Linked DNA regions of Homo sapiens: region 1 is linked to region 2. The links are contacts of gene promoters, found by promoter capture Hi-C in blood cells and fetal thymus (Javierre and others, 2016). All regions are on one chromosome and are shown on one strand. The core of a region is centred on a gene start or on the middle of the fragment in contact, and the rest is flanking DNA. Distances in the headings are between cores, read along the strand shown. Region 1 overlaps DNHD1 (dynein heavy chain domain 1). Region 2 holds the start of OR2AG2 (olfactory receptor family 2 subfamily AG member 2).

Evidence for each region. The method cuts DNA at HindIII sites, captures the fragments that hold promoters and counts their contacts. A CHiCAGO score of 5 or more calls a contact.
Region 1: a contact is called between a fragment that was not itself captured here and the fragment with the promoter of OR2AG2 in region 2, in 1 of 17 cell types (activated CD4 T cells). The highest score is 5.1, in activated CD4 T cells.

Annotation. Positions count from the first base shown.
Region 1 is chr11:6,522,382-6,525,319 of GRCh38, reverse strand. The region is part of intron 10 of DNHD1 (dynein heavy chain domain 1); the gene reads right to left. Among named protein-coding and RNA genes, the nearest start is that of DNHD1, 27 kb to the right of the region's middle. The HindIII fragment of the contact is 734 bases long and covers 1,110-1,843 here.
Region 2 is chr11:6,770,702-6,773,461 of GRCh38, reverse strand. OR2AG2 (olfactory receptor family 2 subfamily AG member 2) reads left to right here and starts at 1,486. Exons shown (of 2, transcript NM_001004490.2): 1 at 1,486-1,840. The HindIII fragment of the contact is 9,473 bases long and covers 1-2,760 here.

The DNA.
Region 1 (2,938 bases), core at 227-2,726, 250 kb after region 2:
GATTTCCTAGCCTATCTTACAGCTAGAGGTAGACAGATGACGCAGATTTTGATGGTGAGATGTAAAAGTGAGTCTGATGGGGAGTTTCCGGAAAAGATTCCTTTTCCTGGCAAAAAGTGAGAGTCAGACACAGAGCTCTCTTGTTAACCTTGCCTCTCCTTTTCTGCCTGATTTTGCTTGAGAATGGGATGCTTGACATTGCAGCTTGTCTTGCAACTATGAGGCAACAAGCCTGAGAATGAAAAAACAAAAAAAATGAAAACCACTTTATTGTGGCCTCCTCCGCCACACATAACTCTCTTACAGAATCTGCTCTTAAATATAGCTAAAAGCAGGAAAGAGTGATGGAAAGATACAAAGAACCTGGTACTTGATGACCACTTTTGAGCCACAGAACAAACTCTGGAAGCACCTACTTCAAGACTTCTTGTTTTGTTTTGTTTTATTTTGTTTAGGCCACTGCAGCTGAATCTAGCTGCATCATGAATTTTTTAGTTATAGGTGCGTACGTAGTTTTGAGTTAAGATTACTTAATCCAAAATCAACCCCCATACTCAGGCCCATATAATAGACGTTTATAGCCAAACACAAGCATAGCTGAAGACTGCAACCTCCCCCACCATACACAGCCTTCTAAGAGGATCTACCCTTGCCTATAGCTAAAAGCCAGTTATTTTGCACCATGACACATCCCCTTGCCATAGCTTATGAATAAAGCATGCAATCTACAGGAGAAGCTGAATCAATCATACTCCTTGTCTTGAAGTTTGAACTAAATCAGTCTCACGGACAGGAAAACTCAAATATCATATAAAGTCAAGGATGGAGTCGGTGTCATAAAAAGTTTAAGTTATTTGAAAGAAGTAGTTATAAGGGAACAGAAAGTCCAAAGGAAGGAGAGATAACTGGACTCAGGAATCAGGGCAGAGGAACTGGAAAGATACACAGAGAGAAGAGATGAAAAAAGGGATAAGCAGAAATTTGAGAGACAGGGGTTCTCTTCCTGATATTCTACTTTCAAATTCTGTGAAGATGGGTGCTGTTACTTCTTCTCTACCTTTGAAGTTAGTAATTGTCTGTTTTGTGAGCTCCAAAATATAAGACAAGCTTGAAGAGCAGTGATTCTAGGTGCCAAGACCTATGAGAGTGCTCAGGCAATATGGTGCTATACAAAGTCAATTGTGATTCCAAGCAATGGAAAGAAAAGCTAGTCTATTTTTAATGGAATTTGGTAAAAGAACATACCAACAAAACAAAACAAAAATCACTAACTTCATAGCCAAGGTAAGAATGAAATAAACTTTGCTTATAATGAGAAAATTTTTTTTAAATTTTAGATTTGGTATCTCTGTCACCCAGGCTGGAATGCAGTGGTGTGATCATGCCTCACTGCAGCCTCAAACTCCTGAGATCAAGCAATCCTTCCACCTCAGCCTCCTGAGTAGCTGAGACTACAGGTGCACACTACCATGCCTGGCTGATTTGTAAATTTTTTTGTAGAGACAGGGTCTCACTATGTTGCTCACACTGGCCTCAAACTCCTGGCCTCAAGTAACTCTCCCACTTTGGCCTCCCAAAGTGCTGGGATTACAGGTGTGAGCCACTGTGCCTGGCCATAAGAAGAAATTTGAAATCAACTAAATCAAAGGAATGTAATTTACCTGCCATTTCTAAGGGATTTGGGGCTTCAATTGAAAATTTATATGTATTGATATAATACATATGAGTCAACATGGAGTTGAATTTTAAAATATCAATCCAACTTGAAAGGCTTCAATGATACAGATCTTTACTATAGGTTTCCTTGAATGAGTGACTCAGACATTCCACACAGAGCAAAGCTTCTTGTTAAACATATTTATATGACTCCTCATACCTCCAAGGTTGCTTTCTCACAGAGCGGCAAGGAAAAAAAAATCTTTCCTTCTCTCTCATCTATAAATCTACTCACAGTCACACTGCTTCCCTCTATACTTCCTCTTCCTAGTCCTACTGCTCATACCTCATACTCCAAAGAGACCTTCCCTGTGCAGTCCCCTTGCAAAAATCACAGTTTTCATATTTTTGCATTGTATCTCCAAGCTAATTTCAGGCATCCCAACCAAAACGTACATCAAGAGATTATATAATTAAAATTAGGCAATCCTTTGTCTCTTTTCAGTGTAACAGATTTATCTTACCACAAATATCAAAAAGTTATTCCAATCTTGGTAGGATATTGCCATACTAAAGTTTAAGGTTTTTGAATCTGACACCTGACAGATGAGAAAAGTGATTAGCTGATCGTGCTTTCTGAGTTTTGAACTGCAGAAAACTTCCGATAAAATTGTAAGGACATCAAATAGTAACAGTAATACTCTCTTGTTTAGTTGTAAAATGTTCTCTGGAAAATATTGGAGAACGCCGTTTAAGACTGGAGAATATGTTGCAACTATTTTATTAATAATATCCTGAGTATTCTTTTAGTGATTAGAATCTAGTCAATGTATACATTTCTATTGAAAAGGGGTTAATTTTCATACTTTTGTGTGTAAGTGGGGCTATTGAAATTATTTTGTAATTTAGTTAAAAGGCCATACAAATTTTGCCTCATTTAAGTAACAGTTTTCTCAGTTGGATGTATGTTTCTTAAAGACTACTATTAGTGTTTTAACTGCTACTTATTTACCTGTATTCAAAATTTATTCCATTTTTTAAACTTTTATTTTAGATTCCGGGGTACATGTGCAGGTTTGTTATATAGGTAAACTCCTATCACAGGAGTTTTTTGTACAGATTATTTCATCACGGTACTAATCCTAGTACCCAATAGTTGTTTTTTTCTGTTCCTCTCCTTCCTCTCACCCTCCACCCTTAAGTAGGCTCCAGTGTCTGTTGTTCCCCTCTTTGTGTCCATGAGTTCTCATCATTTAGCTCCCACTTATAAGTGAGAAAAACA
Region 2 (2,760 bases), core at 237-2,736:
CCCAACACCTTTTCTCTCCACTTATTGGCTGTCGTGTGGCAAGTAGTAGAAGATTTGGACTCGACCACATTTAGCAGTCCAGCTCTCTGCCTCCTTTCACTATAACTATTAACGCAAATTTCATGTCCATCATTTTCTTTCTTCATTTATATGTAGTTTTATTGAATGTACACATATTTATAGGAAGTTTATTTTCACTTAAGTTCTTAACACTGCAAAAGAAGTACCACGATATATAATCCTAAGGTGTCTCTTGCTTCCCTTAATATTAGTTTCCTAAGTTGCTTTTTTTGTTGTATGCTCTGGTTCCTTTGTTTAGATTCCTACATAGTAACCCTTTGGTGCATATCTATCTATTCCACTGTTGATGGGCATAAAGGTCGTTTCTAATTTTTATTGTACTGTGAATAATGCTGCTCTTATAATTTACATGTTTAAAACCGTCTTTTCAGTACATTCCTTTTATAATTAAAAAATAAAAAGATTTTTATATTAGTTCTTCTGTTGCACTTCTGAAATAATTTTGAGTATATATTTTATATAAACAGAAAGTGGAAACTTATTTTTATTTTTTTTAAGTTCAAAGAGAAAAGATATGATAACTCCGGAAGAAATTTTCAGCATTTCCTGGTGAAATGGCTGATTAAAGAGATACTAAAGAATGAGGAAGATTAAGCACAGAATTGGGTGAGAGATGGGAAAGCCTGAACTAAAAGCAGAAGTGAGTGCAAGCAGGTGCTGTGTCATCATCCCAAAGCTCTGAGCAGCTCAGCTGACTGATCACAGAATATGTAGGCCCATGAACAAATGAACACACACAAGAGGGAGTAGAAAGGAGAAACAAAGAACTGAAAAATAAATTAGTGCTGGATCCTCATTAAAGCTCAGTGAAGGAAGACCTGATATTAACAGAAGCATAGTTAACTCCCTCTAGTTGGTAATAGCCCAGGCTAGTGGCACAAAGAGGGATATGTGAGTGGCAGCATCTATAGAACCCATGAGACAGACTTTATATTTTGGACAGAGGGCTGGACAGGGAGGTGTTGCTTTTCAGATTGGTTACTGACACTATCTATTTTGTCAGAAACAGCCTCTGTCTGGTTTTCCGGTCAGTGATTTCTAGGTTAAAATTATAGTTTTGGTTTTGTAAGGCAGGAGAAAGATCTTAGACTCCAATGAGTGGTGAGACACAGCAAGCCCATGGCGGGCAGAACAAGGCCTCAAGGTTCAGAGCTCATTTGGTGGTAAAGTTTGAAGAAATGGCAGGCCAGGAGACATGCCCAAGGGGATTTATTAAAATCCCATTTCCTGGAGCAATATTTTCAGGGGAGGTCATGTCAGCTGAGAGGGTGAGACTATGAACCCTCCCCCAGGACAGGCCTCACTGTTGGCGCAGAGACAGTAAGGCTGGGCATTGGTGGGTCTCTTTTAAGCAGCTCTTCTTATACCTCTTTTCTCACATTCCTGCTGTGCTCCTCTTTTATCATGAAACACAGCATGAGGGGAATATATGAAATCTGAGGACCTGGACTTAAGAACTCAGCTAGAACCATTCCAAAGCAGTAAGGACTTTCTCGCAAGGACAGTGAATGAGAGAACTTTGGAAGAGATTCAGCTCCTCACTTCTGCAGGATCCTGCCCTAGGTTCTCAGCTGCCTGTCTGCATCTATCTCTACTTCCAGAGAGGACTTGCAGTGCCAGTGACTGGAGGAGCCTTTGATCTCTGATCCTAGAGACAGCCATACACACACCTACATTCATCCTGGCCAGAAGAAGCAACTTTTCTTTCTTTGGCTTCTTGAACCTCTTTACCTGGAAGCTATGCCCCTTCCCATATGAGGTAAGGGCTCTGTCTCCGTTTCAAGGCAATATGGGAAGTCTGGAAGTCCTGAGAAACAGGGTCAAGACCTTACACTGCTCTCCTTCTCAGATTCTCTAGTTCCTCAGGCTTTATGATTCACTCACTCCCATCTATATCTTATCAACCTTGTACATGTACCCATCTTGCACATGTAGGAACAACCAAAATAATTCTATGCCATTGGCCAGCCGTGAGTTCCTAGAATTCCTGATGATGGCCTCCTGGTAAAAGTCTCAGTACTTACCTTTGTTACATCTAGATTTTCCTGGCCTCCAGTAGTTTGATGTGAGTCCCCAAATGAATAGTACCTCAAAGGAGGACTATCTAAAATATGCTGAAGTGCCTTTCCCCTGCAGGACTGCTTGGCGCTAAGTCCAGTGCCACACAAAAAGCCAAATGAAGTAAATACAAAAAATAAATATACTGAGCAGAGATGAAAAAGAAAAACTTATAAAATATACTTCCAAAAATTTAGCTCTACCTTGTTAATTGACTGACCATTTTCCATAAACTATAGCAATGCCTCTTAATATCAGCCTCTGCTGACTTCTCTTGGTTTGAAATACCCGCAACCACCAGCAGTTTTCCAGAATGAAGCTCTTCCTCTGTAGGCCCAGTGTGTGTTCTCTGGCCTTTCCCTTTAGATGACCCCAGAGAGAACTCAGTAAATGGAAAGAAGGGAAAACAATAGTCCCGTATCAGAGGGAGGAGGTAGGTATGTAGGATCCTGAGTCCTGGTTACACCACCTTACCCAAGCCCTGATTTTTCTTCTCTTTGAAATCCTGTCCAAACATCTGGTGCAGGAAGCTAGAAGAATGTGCCCAGCTAATTATGTTCCTCCTTTTATTTACCTGTCCATTCATCTTTTTATTCAAGAAAAATGAAGGCATTTCAAATC